Linked DNA regions of Homo sapiens: all the other regions are linked to region 1. The links are contacts of gene promoters, found by promoter capture Hi-C in human tissues and cell types (Jung and others, 2019). All regions are on one chromosome and are shown on one strand. The core of a region is centred on a gene start or on the middle of the fragment in contact, and the rest is flanking DNA. Distances in the headings are between cores, read along the strand shown. Region 1 holds the start of PLSCR5 (phospholipid scramblase family member 5). Region 2 has its middle 63 kb from the start of PLSCR5. Region 3 has its middle 46 kb from the start of PLSCR5.

The links. Contacts are between HindIII fragments. The study calls those that stand out against the background at their distance.
Region 2: a fragment that was not itself captured here is called in contact with the fragment with the promoter of PLSCR5 in region 1 in 2 of the 25 tissues and cell types used here (aorta and hippocampus).
Region 3: a contact is called between a fragment that was not itself captured here and the fragment with the promoter of PLSCR5 in region 1, in 1 of the 25 tissues and cell types used here (hippocampus).

What each region holds. Positions count from the first base shown.
Region 1 is chr3:146,602,804-146,607,583 of GRCh38, forward strand. PLSCR5 (phospholipid scramblase family member 5) reads right to left here and starts at 2,543. Exons shown (of 8, transcript NM_001085420.2): 1 at 2,397-2,543. The coding sequence starts at 2,409. The HindIII fragment of the contact is 14,045 bases long and covers 1-4,780 here.
Region 2 is chr3:146,665,763-146,670,542 of GRCh38, forward strand. No RefSeq gene overlaps it. Among named protein-coding and RNA genes, the nearest start is that of PLSCR5, 63 kb to the left of the region's middle. The HindIII fragment of the contact is 6,463 bases long and covers 1-4,780 here.
Region 3 is chr3:146,649,364-146,654,143 of GRCh38, forward strand. No RefSeq gene overlaps it. Among named protein-coding and RNA genes, the nearest start is that of PLSCR5, 46 kb to the left of the region's middle. The HindIII fragment of the contact is 3,439 bases long and covers 593-4,031 here.

The DNA.
Region 1 (4,780 bases), core at 1,293-3,792:
CGCCCAGTCCTGGAGGGCCTTAGACTTCACAGCAAGTCCAGAAGCATTAATGCACTTGGAGCTCAGAGGATATTGTGTCCAAAGTCTTTATTTAGGAGTAGAGTGTGAGTGAGTCTCTGCCTGAGACTGTTGAGAGACATCACTATTCTGAGATCACTAGCTGCTTCTTCTGGGATTTTAGTTCACATTGAAGCAACCTTTGGAGACAGCTCTTGCTCAGTTCAGATCACCGTGTTTGAGAGCAACTTGCTCTTAAATTGTGTTAATTTCTACTAAGCCAGGATGCTCCAGCTCACACAAATGTCTCTTCAGTTCTAATGGCACCTGGTATTTAGACTGTCTTTTGGTTTAGTAGTGCTGATTGATCTGCCTATGAAATATGTGAAATGTACAATTAGTCTGCATTCCCTGGGAAAATGCTAATTGCCAATATAGTTACTGGACAAGAAAACATGATGTTATAAATAATGTGTTTATATACAGCTGAAGAAAACTATCCACAAAAATGTTTTACTTAGATAATGGTGATAATTTGACTTGCCCTCTTAAACAAGATATCTAATTCACAAGAAAGCTTCATTATCACTTATATTCTCCTAGGTAGTATGAAGTCTCTAATAGGTGTTTTATCCTTCCATGCATTAAATATTTTGAGCCGGTTGCAGAAGGAGGGTCAGTTTTCCACCTGAAGTTTTGCTTCTAAGTTTAGACTTGGGTCTTTATCATTATGGAACATCACTGCTTCCTGTTAGATTAATCATATTTTGACATAATATTACTTTCCAGTCACAAGTTTCTTCAAAGACTCAGACAACCAGATGAAGAAGGAACTCCTTTGAATTTCGTACTGGCTTTGAATTTCTATCTACTCTTTTAAAAATGTATAACTAGCTTATAAATATTTTATACACTCTGCAACTTTTTACCTTACAGTCTACAGTATTGCTGTAACTCTTATTTTATAAAGTGATGAAGTATTTTGGACTAAATAGTAGTGTCAGTCTTAAATGAAAGGAAATATTTGTCAAGGTTTTTTGTTTATTTGTCTTCAGATAGAAAAAAATGACACATATGTTAAATTCATGATTTTGCTATTTCACATCTATGTTTTACAATTTGTGTGAGCTTTCTCAGTGATTCTGAGGGACTGAGGGACTGGTCTACATTAAAGATTGATAAAAAATGGAAAGATTATCTCATTTGTTTCATATTAAATAGTGACCAAAAGTGTGTTTTGATAAAGGAAGCAAGTAAGCATACACATTTGTTTGAATGGATCACTAATTTAGGATATTACAAATTGATGAGCCCTATTATCCTATTTGTAATTAATTTAAAAGGTTTTCACCAATTATACTAATTATAATTCTTCATGCTAAAACTTTTCATTATAGCCTAGGCTTTAGTGGTTCATTCTGACAATGAAATGAAAGCACATTATAATTTTATTTCTTACACAGTTTCACAAGTGTTTTTAGTGAGATTGCAACTTACTTTAAAAACAACTACATCTCTTGTCTTTTTAGACCTTCTTTAAAGTAAGATAACGTAATGATATTTTTGCAGTTTTAGGAATTTGAGAAAAAACTCATCAGTCCTACTCCCCAAAAGTCTGCTAAGTGATCTGTGCGCTTAAAGCAGATATTTTCTGTTTGTTTTCTATCTTTAATTTACCATAAGGAAATTTCAAGATATTTTTGCTTTATAATTCAGAAATACTTATTTCTAGCCCATCACATTTAAGAATCAATAATAACGCATGTCAGATTCTTTATAATAAATGGCTATATCACATAATTTGAATAACAAATGGGAAAATAAAACTTAGAGAGTGTAACTGGATTGTCTGTAACTCAAAGGCTGAATGCTTGATGGGATGGATATCCCATTCCCCTTTATGTCCTTAATTCACATTGCCTGCTTGTATGAAGACATCTCATGTATCCCATAAGTATATATACCTACTATGTACCCACATAAATTTTTAATATTTTAATTAAAAAAATTATTAAATTGCACTTTAACACTTTCTAACTTATGTGTGAAAAGTTTTCTTCAAATCCTTTTAAACTTAAAATATCACCCTGTCCTTGTGTTTAACATTGAAGATTCCCATTCTAAACTTTGCTATGCAGCTTTTCTTATTAATTCACTATGTTTGTATTCATGATAACTAAAACATCGTTTACATCTGAACTTTTACAGTCTGTCAGATAAAGTGTTTTTACATGTAACTCAACATGCTCCTGGGAGTTAAGATTTTAAAATCACAATGTTCAAAAGTGACAAATGACAGCTTTTAAAGTACCAATCTAACTGGTTGTAACACATCCACAATTGTATATTTTTAGTCTTAATATAAGAAAAAGTTATTAGTTGGTTATATTTACTCTTACCTTTAGAGGCCATGAAGATGTCTGAGTCACTTCTTCAAAGGTTGCCAGGTTGGAAAACAAAGGCTTTTCTTGTTGCAGCAAGGAGAGAAAACGCAGCATGCACAAAACTTCAGAACGTGTTTGTCTGCCTCTTGTCAGCTTACATATAACAGAGGAAGGGAGTCCCTTGCTGTTTCTAGACTTCTGGACTTTATCAGTTTGGACAACAGAGTGAGATGAAACTGTCACAAAAGTAAACGCTGTTCAGAAACCATCATATAACTTTGGTGGCTGAAGGAACAATTTAAAAATAATAAAAACCAGAAAGGAAAGCACACAGCACTCATTTTAAGTGTCTTTTTTTTTTTTACCAAGTTGTTTTTGTATTTCTTAGAATATACACATTTGCATTCAGTCTTATATCAGAAATATCCTGTATTTCTCAATTTCTAGAAGTCTCCTTTCCAGATTCTGTGATAAAACATCCTATTGTATAAATTTTTGATAGTTCTAAATACAATTCTTTACATGTTGAAAATGTTTGAACATTATTATTGTTATTTTTCTATTGGATTTATCTCCATCTCTTCAACTCAAAATAAATAAGAAGAGGATATATTCCCTACTATTATATAAATAAATCTTTATTTTCATTTTTAATTGAATTTGATTAATCAGAGGCATTGGAATATACAAACCTTCAATAGCCTTGCAAAGCTAATCAAAATTTACAGATGATATTTAACTGCATTGAATTCTAAGGAAAGAAAACAAGTGCTGTAACCTTGACTGGACAGCTCCTATTTCTAAATGCAGCTACCCAGGTGACCATGGAGATTTTGCTCACCAAGTCAATTGCCCTACATGGTATGATTCACAAAGGTTGAACATGCAGGATATATTGCATTATCAGCAACACTGTCTTTTTCTGAAAATAGTTAAGAGGCTTCAGGAGGTATACCTTGTGATGAAAAATTATAAAGTCAACCTCACAGTTTGCAGACTGCCAAAAGTTTGAGTTTTCCTTATTTGACAAAGAGGAGTGGTTTTGTTGTTGTAGTTTTCTTAGTGTTTGGAGTTGAAAAAAGCTACCATTATTTAAGTTGTCGTTTTGCAGAAAAGATGTGTGAATATGATTAATATTTTTAAATTAAACTGTATGTTTCCTAAGTTTTTTCTAATGTTTGTCGTGAGCATTTAGAAAAACTTTAATACAAAAAATTAAGTTATTAACACTATCAAAGAAGATTAAAAAAATTTTTTTTATTATACTCTAAGTTCTACGGTACATGTGCACAACGTGCAGGTTTGTTACATATGTATACATCTGCCATGTTGGTGTGCTGCACCCATTAACTCATCATTTACATTAGGTACATCTCCTAATGCTATCCCTCCCCTCTCCCCCCACCCCACAACAGGCCCCGGTGTGTGATGTTCCCCTTCCTGTGTCCATGTGTTCTCACTGTTCAATTCCCACCTGTGAGTGAGAACATGCGATGTTTGGTTTTCGGTCCTTGCGATAGTTTGCTGAGAATGATGGTTTCCAGCTTCATCCATATCCCTACAAAGGACATGTACTCATCATTTTTTATGGCTGCATAGTATTCCATGGTGCATATGTGCCACATTTTCTTAATCCAGTCTATCATTGTTGGACATTTGGGTTGGTTCCAAGTCTTTGTATTGTGAGTAGTGCGCAATAAACATACGTGTGCATGTGTCTTTGCTCAGCAAAAGGAACTACCATCAGAGTGAACAGGCAACCTACAGGATGGGAGAAAATTTTTGCAATCTACTCATCTGACAAAGGGCTAATGTCCAGAATCTACAAAGAACTCAAACAAATTTACAAGAAAAAAACAAGCAACCCCATCAAAAAGTGGGTGAAGGATATGAACAGACACTTCTCAAAAGAAGACATTTACGCAGCCAACAGACACATGAAAAAATGCTCATCATCACTGGTCATCAGAGAAATGCAAATTGAAACCACAATGAGATATCATCTCACACCAGTTAGAATGGTGATCATTAAAAAGTCAGGAAACAACAGGTGCTGGAGAGGATGTGGAGAAATAAGAACACTTTTACACTGTTGGTGGGACTGTAAACTAGTTCAACCATTGTGGAAGACAGTGTGGCAATTCCTCAGGGATCTAGAACTAGAAATACCATTTGACCCAGCCATCCCATTACTGGGTATATACCTAAAGGAATATAAATCATGCTGCTATCAAACAAGATGTTTTGAAATGTGGTCAGAATTCACCAGTTAATTTTGACTGCCCTACACAGCACAAATTTTGGAATAAAAATAAAAATCTTAGTGAATTAAACATATTTGTGAACTCTCCAAAGACAACCATATATGACTTGGGCATATGATGACATGGGCATATGAC
Region 2 (4,780 bases), core at 1,471-3,970, 63 kb after region 1:
GCAAAAGTATCTTTCAAGAATATGAACAAAATCAAGATATTTTTAGAAAAATAAGAACTGAATTTACTACCAATAGAGTCTGTCTTTAAAAATATTAAAAGACATTTCTAGAAAGAAGAGACTGAGTTTAGATGCAAAAAAAAAAAAAAGAAGTAGTGAGCAAAGATAACTAATACTGACTGAGAAAATCATAATAATGACTTTTTAAATATAGTGTGTATTTATAATACATAGTTAAAATTCTGATTCTATCAAATTGTTCACTCCCACTGGGACTTTCAGTCCATTCACCCTGACACTTTCCTATTTCCCTCTTCTTCTTACTTCCACAGATTAAGCATTATATACACCCCCACTATATACACAAGACTCTATACCCCCGTGTATATACCCTTCTCTATTTTGCCTTTACTGACTTTGCTTTTCATGGCAGAGCCAGCATATAGTCTTGCTTACCACCGATCCATATCTGCATCTCTATAGGTGAATTGCAGGAGTAAGACAAACTACCATGCTGCTTAATTTTGCTTTCAAATTAATGACACCAAAATTTAAGTGATACTTCAATATTGCCTGGCAATAACACTCTATTTCTACAGACTATTCTTTCTACCACTGTCTTAGCTGACCATTGCTTACTTTTCTCTCTCTTCATACCTTTATCACCTCCTGCATAGCCTCTTTCTCTGTTGTTGACATTGCATTCTATTTCACTGGGAAAGCCAATGTATTTTAAAGAATTCTTTTACATGCCTCTGTTATTCTTAAACTGCCTTTCACTTATTACCATCCATAACTATCCACGTTCCTACCTAAAACCACTCTCTTCTCTTCTGTGTATGATCTTTTCTCACCTCCACCAAAACATCTATGTCTTCAACCAGTTTTTTTTCTCTTTCTCCTATATAGTTAATTTTTTTCCTTTTTAACTGTATTGTCCCAATGACAAAGAAACATCCTATTTCCTCCACAAATAAAACAAAAACAAAATCAGAACAAACAACAAAACCAAAGCTTGCTTCCATTTCCCTATGAGCTACCACTTAATTTATTTGCTTCCATTCACAACCAGTTTCTTTAAAGAGCTTTCTATATTTATGTCTCCAGTTATTGTTTATATTTTCTTGATTTTAAAAAGGAAAAGTGGACATATCATAAGTGTATAGCTTGAGGATTTTTTACAAATTGAACACACGCATGAAAATAGTACTCAGAACATAACATTACCAGCATCCCAAAGATCTCTCTTTTATCTGGTTCCAAGAACGACTGCCTCACATTGTCAATTTTTCTGGGTCCTAACACCATAGATTGCTGGTGTGTGTTTGTTTTATTTGTTGTTGTTTTGTTTTTGTTTTTTTTTTACATAAAAGGAGTCATATAGTATGTACTCCATTTGTATGCATTCCTTGAATCAACATTATCTTACTGAGTTACACATTTTATTTTATAAAATAGTGTATCCATTTCCTTTTAAACACACTCTTTGTCAGGCTTTTTTTCCCATCCCTCCACGAGTACTACTATTATCAAGTCAAAATAATCCCACATTGCTCAACTCACTGACCCAATATGATCCTACTGGACCTACTTGATCTCGTTTATTTACTTTTTTAATACACAATCTTTAATTTGCCATCAGAGCACTTCCATCTTGTAGTTTTCTATTTTTCTCATTTAGTCTTTTCTGTCTCTTTTGCTAGTTCCTTTTCTTCTGTCCAACTGCCTCTTCAAGTTAAGGTGTTCCAGTTTTTTGCCATTTTTTTTTTTCTAATAAAAAAATTTTGAGAAACTTTTTAGTGGGTTTTATGGTTCTAAGTAACATTGCAATGATTATCACTCCAATATTTATATCTCAGGCCCAGATTTCTTTTTTGAAATCCAGATTTGTATATGCAATTATGTATTCAACAGCTTTTCTTGAATTTATGTCTTCTCAACAGACATAAATTCAACAGCTGCAAAATGAAGTTCCTAATTGTACTCCTCAAAACCTGCTTCACTTAAAGCATATTCCATCTCAGTTGACATCAACTTCATTCTTCTAAGTGCTCAAAGTCAAATACTTGAAATTATCCTTGAATTCTCGTTTTCCCTCACACTGCATCCAATTTATCAGCAAATTCACTTTCTCTTGAAAGCATATTCAGAATCAGACCTCTGATGTAGGAGCCAGCATCATTCAGTGCTTACATTACTGCCACAGCCTCCTTTCTCATCACCATCATTCCATCCTTCATCTATCCTCCCATCTATTTTCAAAAGAGCCATCATTGTAAAATGTGTATTTTTAAAGAATAATTTTACTTTAGATTCAGGGGACACATGTGCAGGTTTGTCACATGGCATGGGTGTATTGTGTGAGGCTGAGGTTTGGGGTGTGAATGAATACCCCAAGATAGTGAGCATATTACCCAATAGGTAGTTTTCAGGATTTGGCCACCTCCCTCTCTCCTTTTGGAGTTACCAGTGTCTATTGTTCCCCTCTTTACAATCATATGTATTCAATTCTTAGCTCTCACTTATAAGTGAGATCATGCAGTATTTGGTTTTCTGTTCCTGTGATGTTTTGCTTAGGAATATGGCCGTCACACACATGCATGTTTCTGCAAAAGGACGTAATTTTGTTCTCTTTTATGGCTGTGCAGTACTCCATGGTGTCTATGTACCACATTTTTTTAAATCTGCCATTGATGGTCACCTAGGTTGATTCTATATCTTTGATATCGTGAATAGTGCTGTAATGAACACACTAGTGCATGTGTCTTTTTGGTATTACAATTTTTTTTTTTTGGACATATACCCAGTAACGGGATTTCTGAATCAAATGGTAGTTTAACTCTCAGTTCTTTGATGAATATCCAGACTGCTTTCCACAGTTGCTGAAATAATTTACATTCCCATCAAAAGTGTGCAAGTGTTCATTTTTCGCCCCAGTCTCACCAGCATCTGTTATTTTTTTACTTCTTAATAATGGCCATTCTGACTGGTGCTAGAGAATATCTCATTGTGGTTTTGATTTGTATTTCTCTGATAACTAGTGATACTGGTCATTTTTTCATTTTTTTTGGTCCACTTGTGTGTCTTCTTTTGACTTTGTTAGGAAGTGTCTTTTGCCCACTTTTTAATGGGGTTATGTGTTTTTTGTTTGTTGAATTAAGTTTCTTATAGATTCTGAATATTATACCTTTGTTAGACACATAGTTTGTGAATATTTTCTCCTAGTCTGTTGGTTGCCTGTTTACTCTATTGATAGTTTCTTTTGCTGTGCGGAAGCTCTTTAGGCCCCACTTGTCAAATTTTGGTTTTGTTGTAGGCTTAGTCATAAACTCCTTCCTAAGGTCAATGTCCAGAGAGGGGTTCCGAGGTTTTCTTCTAGGATTCATATAACTTGATGTCTTACATTTAAATCCTTAATCCATTTTGAGTTAATTTCTGTGTATAGTGAAAGGTAGGGATCCAATTTCACTCTTCTGCATATGACTAGCCAGCTTTCTCAGCACCATTTATTGAATGTGGAATCCTTTCCCCATTGCTTATTTTTGTTGACTCTGTCAAAGATCAGGTGGCTGCAGGTGTGCTGCTTTATTTCTGGGTTCTCTATTCTGTTCCATTGCTCTGTGTGTCTGGTTTTTTTTTTTTTTTTTCAGCACTACCATGCTGTTTTGGTTATTGAAGCCTGATAGCATTGTTTGAAGTTGGGTAATGTGACACCTATGGCTTTGTTCTTTTTGTTTAGGACTGCGTTGGCATTTGTGCTTTCTTTTGTTTCTGTATGTATTTTAAAATAGCCTTTTCTAATTCTGTGAAAAAATGACATTGGTAGTTTGATAGGAATAGCAATGAATCTGTAAATTGTTTTGGACAGTATGGTCATTTTCATGATATGAATTCAACCAATCCATGAGCATCAGATATTTTTCCATTAATTTGTGACATCTGTGATTTCTTTCAGCATTGTTTTCTAATTCTCCTTGTAGAGATTCTTCACCTCCTTAGTATTCTTAGGTACCTTTTTTTTTTTTTTTTGGTATGTGTGGCTATTGTAAATCGGGTTTTGCACTTGAGTTGGCCCTCAGCCTGGACATTGTTGGTGTATAGAAATGTTACTGATTTGGGGACATTGATTTTGTATACCAAAACTTTACTAAAGTTGTTTCACAGTTTCAGGAGCCTTTTGCTAGCATCATTAAGGTTTTTTAGGTATAGAATTATATCATTAGCAAAGATAAATAATTTCACCTATTATTTTTCTACTTGGATGCACTTTATTTCTTTCTTTAGCCTGATTGCTCTAGAATAGTTAAGTCATCTTGTCAAATTGAGCACTTTATCATTATGTAATGTCTTTCTTTGTTCTTTTTTATTGTTGTTGGTTTACAGTTTGTTTTATCTGATATAAAATACTGATCTCTGCTCTTTTTTGCCTTCCATTTGTGTGGTAGATCTTTCTCAAATGTATTCTTTTGAGCCTGTGGATGTCATTATGTGTGAGATGGGTCTCTTGAAGACAGTAGATAGATGGATCTTGTTTACTCATTCAAACTTGCCACTCAGTTCTTTTGAAATGGACCCTTTGGACCATTTGGATTCACGGTTAATGTTGATATGTGAGATCTTTATTCTATCATGAAATTGTTAGCTGACTGCTTTGTAGTTTCTATTGTGTGGTTGTTTTATACTTTTGGTGAGCTATGTATTTAAGTGGGTTTTATAATAGCAGGTATCATTCTTTTGTTTCCATGTTGGATTTCCTTAAGGATCTCTGGTAAGGCTAGTC
Region 3 (4,780 bases), core at 1,062-3,561, 46 kb after region 1:
AGAAAGAAAAGAAACATATATTCTGGCCATTATATTTTCCCACGTTAAATAGGCTATGAATAAGACCAACATTTCCAGTATTATATTAAGACATTTATTTGTAGAGAGGGGCAAAATGGACAGAAAAACTAAAAGACATAACCTGGGTCTAGAATTTGTTGTTATTAACTATTAAAGAATTCCCATAGTTGGTTTAGAGTACCCTTTATTTTTTAACATTCTTTTCTCTTTCTCTTCCTTTCTGTACTTTGTGATTTGAGTCAAAAGGTGAAAACAAGTACATTATGGTGTGTATTTTAATCATTGCACTATGCATTGCATGCTTTTTTGTAAGAGGCCAGGGGCTGAGCAGCCCATTTATGTCCAAGTCATGGGAGTGTGGGAATTAGGATTCCTGTGTGTCTCTGTGTCTATGTGTTTGTGAAGAAATATAATTAGAATAGAAATAGAATAATATTGCCGGACATCTTCTGTTTCTATATCTGTAAAATTAAAATAATAACTTAAAAGTTTTATTAAGAAAGAGAGAATAAGTATAAAAGAAATCTGGCACTTGGAATTTTAGCTATTATTATTAAAGACTTTTTAAATAGTATTTGAATCAAAATGTACACATATCTCTCATTCCCAGTCTACCGACCTACTTGCTCTTTCGAAAATGACCATTGATTTTTTGAACTCTGGAAGCTATAGCTGTACCTGGTCAAGAAAATCTCTTGGATTGGCAGGCTATTGAGTTAGCTGCCAGAAAACAGCCGTAAGAGGGTCAATTCTGATTAGAACTGACATCTAAGACTTTTTAAAATGAGTTCTTTCCCAGCTTGCTCATGTACTCCACTTTATTGTTTATAGAATTGCAAACCCTGTTACTTAAAATAGCAAAGACACTACATTTACTTTCTGCTGACAATTAATGCAATTAAGAATAATTAAAAGTTCAGGCACTACTAATTTCCTCAGAAAGTGTCTTGGAAACTAATACAGCTAAGAGGATTTAAAATGATGCTAATTCCACATGGTCTGGGGACTGGTGCCCCATCCTTAAATTGTTTCTCTTCCAGAATAAGTACAGAAGTTGAGAGTGCCGTGAAATGAAAGTTCATGGTGCAAATATTTTACAAAATTATTGCCCTGGTGGGGACTGGGAGTGAGAATTCTTGGTTCTTGACTACAGTAATTCCCAAAGCACTGATTTAAGGGAAATCTCTGTGCATAAGCAGGTAACAATTGATGTGGTCTGACCTCTTAAGACATGTTGCCACCAGATCTGTCCCCAAGCACCTGTTATGAAATCTGATTTTATAATTAGAATTTTATTTCTTAGGGTTGTAGGCTTGAAAATAGTGTTTCAGATCCTTTTATGATAGTGCAAATATTTCTGTAAAGAGAGGTAGGAGCTATCATTTACTGAACGACTATTATCTGAGTTGCTTGTGCATTTATTACTATTATTTTGCATAATGCTGGCCTAATGCCCTAAAAGAGTTTAGTTACCATGGAGGCCAATTTGGAAGTGTGTTGAGCAATGTTAGCAAAGAATAGAAAGATCCTGAATGTGTGTGTGTGTTTGATGGGGGTGGGGTATTAGAGAATTCCAAATCAAAATTAAAGTAGCTTCCCGATTTGCCCTGTATGCTATTTGCCACTTTGAGTTCACATGGTATATCACATCTTTGGGTATATTCTTGCTAATCCACAAGCCCAGTGGAAAAGGCAAGAAAGGGGATGAAGTGTGTATCTAAATCCAGTGCATATGCAGGACAGTTGAACCTTCTTCCCCACTGATCTTTACCAGTCATTCATTCTGTGAAGCTTTGTATCCTCCTTTATTCTGTGACATTCTTATTTCCTCCATGTTTTAGGGTGTGAACTCTATGTGGAAATGTACTGAGCTATCAGAATAGCAAAAGGAGTCATGTATTCTGAAGTGGCTATTTTAGTTCAAATGTTACATATTTCCTATTTTCTCTTGAGAATTGTTTTGCTGTTTCAGGCAGAATTTCAAAATGAATAGACAAAACAAACAAAGCTTCAAGATTCTCTAAGCAAGGATTTCTCCTAATAGGATTTTAAAATATTTTACAGTTTTTTCTCATCTATTTTATACACTTAGACTTTCTAGCTAGGTCAAATTATTCTTTTACATTTTATTGCCATTGACTTACAATTATAATATTCACTATTATGTTGGCTTTGCCAGGAATATTTTAGTAATTTAATATTGAACGTTAATAGAATCTCTGGTACAAATATCAAGGCGTCTGACCTTAAGGATGAGAATTAAAGTTACCTGGTTGGAAGTATTGACATCTATGCTCTGTGAGGGTCTTATGTACACTGTATTACTGAGGTGTTCAGTAGCTAGCTTAGACTGAGTGGCATATTCTCCCTACAATAACTGAATGTTCTGCTCCTTCTCCTTTAATTGACAAATAATTACACTTAATTCACACATTTATTAGTACACTGAAGGTTTGCTTTGGAAGAAATATATGTTATAACGATACTAAATCACTGAATTGAATAAGGAGTAACAGCTTTTTAAAAACAGCTTTCCCACTTTGGGAGGCTGAGGTGGGCAGCTTGCCTGAGCTCAGGAGTTCGAGACCAGCCTGGGAAACACGGTGAAACCTTGTCTCTACTAAAATACAAAAAATTAGCTGGGCTTGGCGGCATGAGCCTATAGTTCCAGCTGCTGGGGATGCTGAGGCAGGAGAATTGCTTGAACCCTGGAGGTGGAAGTTGCAGTGAGCCAAGATCGGGCCACTGCACTCCACTCTAGCCCAGGCGACAGAGCGAGACTCTGTCTTAAAAAGCAAAAACAAAAAAACATGCAAACAAAAAAACAGCTTTCTTACAAAAGTAATTTGGATTCGGTACTTACATTTGTGCTCGTGCATTTTGCGCTCATTCCAGTGTAGAAATAGAGATAAGTGCTCTTTGTGATATAGCCTTTCGGTCATAGACATAAGGACTGAAGCCATAAACAACTTATAAACTAGAGAAATGAAAACTATATGCACTAAGTTGAAATTGAGTTTTCTCTAATTAAAATGTTAATAAGATTTAATGGCTTAGAGTCCCCTAAGACCTAAAGGAGCCCATAATTAAAATAAAGTGATTTTAAAGAAATTATGATAAATATTAAAATATCCAAAATTGTTTTGCTGTAAATTCTTAAACTTAGGCCGTATTTCCTTTACTGCTCTTTGCTTTTCTTTTCTCTAAGTATTTTTTTCTTTTTTAGATATATGTGTATAAGATTGTTGACTCTTTACTATGCCGATACTAGGTTAAACTAAAATAATACACATTCTCATTTAATTCTCACAATAGTCCTCTGTGGTAACAGCTTTTCTTCTCATGTTACTGGATAAAGAATTTCAAGCATGATATTCTGATTTACCTACACAAATAAGGAAAAAAAATTCCAACTTTCATATTTAAATTTATTATTTACTTATTACCTATCTGACACTACATTCAGCATCAGATAAGTGAATGTCTTGTGTGTGGTTAGTTGTAGTGAGCACAGAGCCCACCCATATTCCCAGCTTCCCTGTGGTTAGGTGTGGCCAGATGACTGTCCTGGATGAGGGAATGTGAGAGGATTAATGATGTGTCTGTTCTGAGTGGTGGCTTTTAACAATGGATGTGCCTACTTCGTGTTCTTTTCCACTTTTGCCAAAAGAGTGAAGATTACAACAAGGCCTTTCAAGATACTGGAGCCACAGGATAGAGGGAGACTTTTTTTTTGCCTAATTCACCCATGGAGAAAATCTGCCAGTGGTTCAGGAACTCCGGCAGGGGATGACTACATGATTTAGGAGTACACGTCTATTGCAATTTAGCTATTGCTTAATTTTAGATTTATTTGTGAAAGCACCTAATACTATATTAATGCAAGCTTGTTTTTATGTTTTCCTTGTTTTCTTTCCCCAAATTGCATAATGTATTCTATAAGAGACACCTGATTCTTTTCCTGCTGATGTAAATTAGAAGCTATAGTTTTCTATTTGCTATTACAGTAAATGTTGATCTTATTATCTTCCATCCAATAAACTTTCTGCAATTTCTGGCACATGCCTGTTATACTGATTATGAAATAAAAGTAATTGGTGGTTATCACTATGTTAAAAAAAAGAGAGATGAAAAGCTTCGTGAAAAGGGTGTTGATGGCCTTTTCAGTACTCACCATTAAAAATGCAAAATAAAGATTCAGACCAAGAAATATATATTATAAAATTACTGTATGTATATGTTATTAGTCTACTACTTGGTCATTTAGAGAAAATGTGGCTATTTTCAAGAATTCCATGGATGTGAAACGGACACTGCTTATGAGTGGGGGAAAACTGTGGGTTAATTCCTTAAGTGAGACTAGTTGTATAACCTTGACCAAGTCACTCATTTCAGTGGAACTTGGCCTCACCTCATATTCATAACAACAATTTCTAATATTTACAGAGTCTTTTCTCTGTATCAAAAAATGGCCTAGGTTTTTTCCACATATTAATTCATTTAATCCCCACAATATTATGGGACAGTACTATTTTGCCCCATTTTATAGAACAATAAGTTAAAGTATCTTGACTAAAGTCATTCAGCTAACTGGTAGCAAAGTTAAGCTTGAACTGCCAGTCTGGCTCCGGAGTAAGTACTATTAACCAGTTTCCTAATGATTCTCAAACTACAGAGTGCACCAGAATCACCTGGAGAGCTTGTTAAAATACAAATTGGTGTGTCTCAAACCCAGAGTTTCTGATGCACTAGGTCGGGG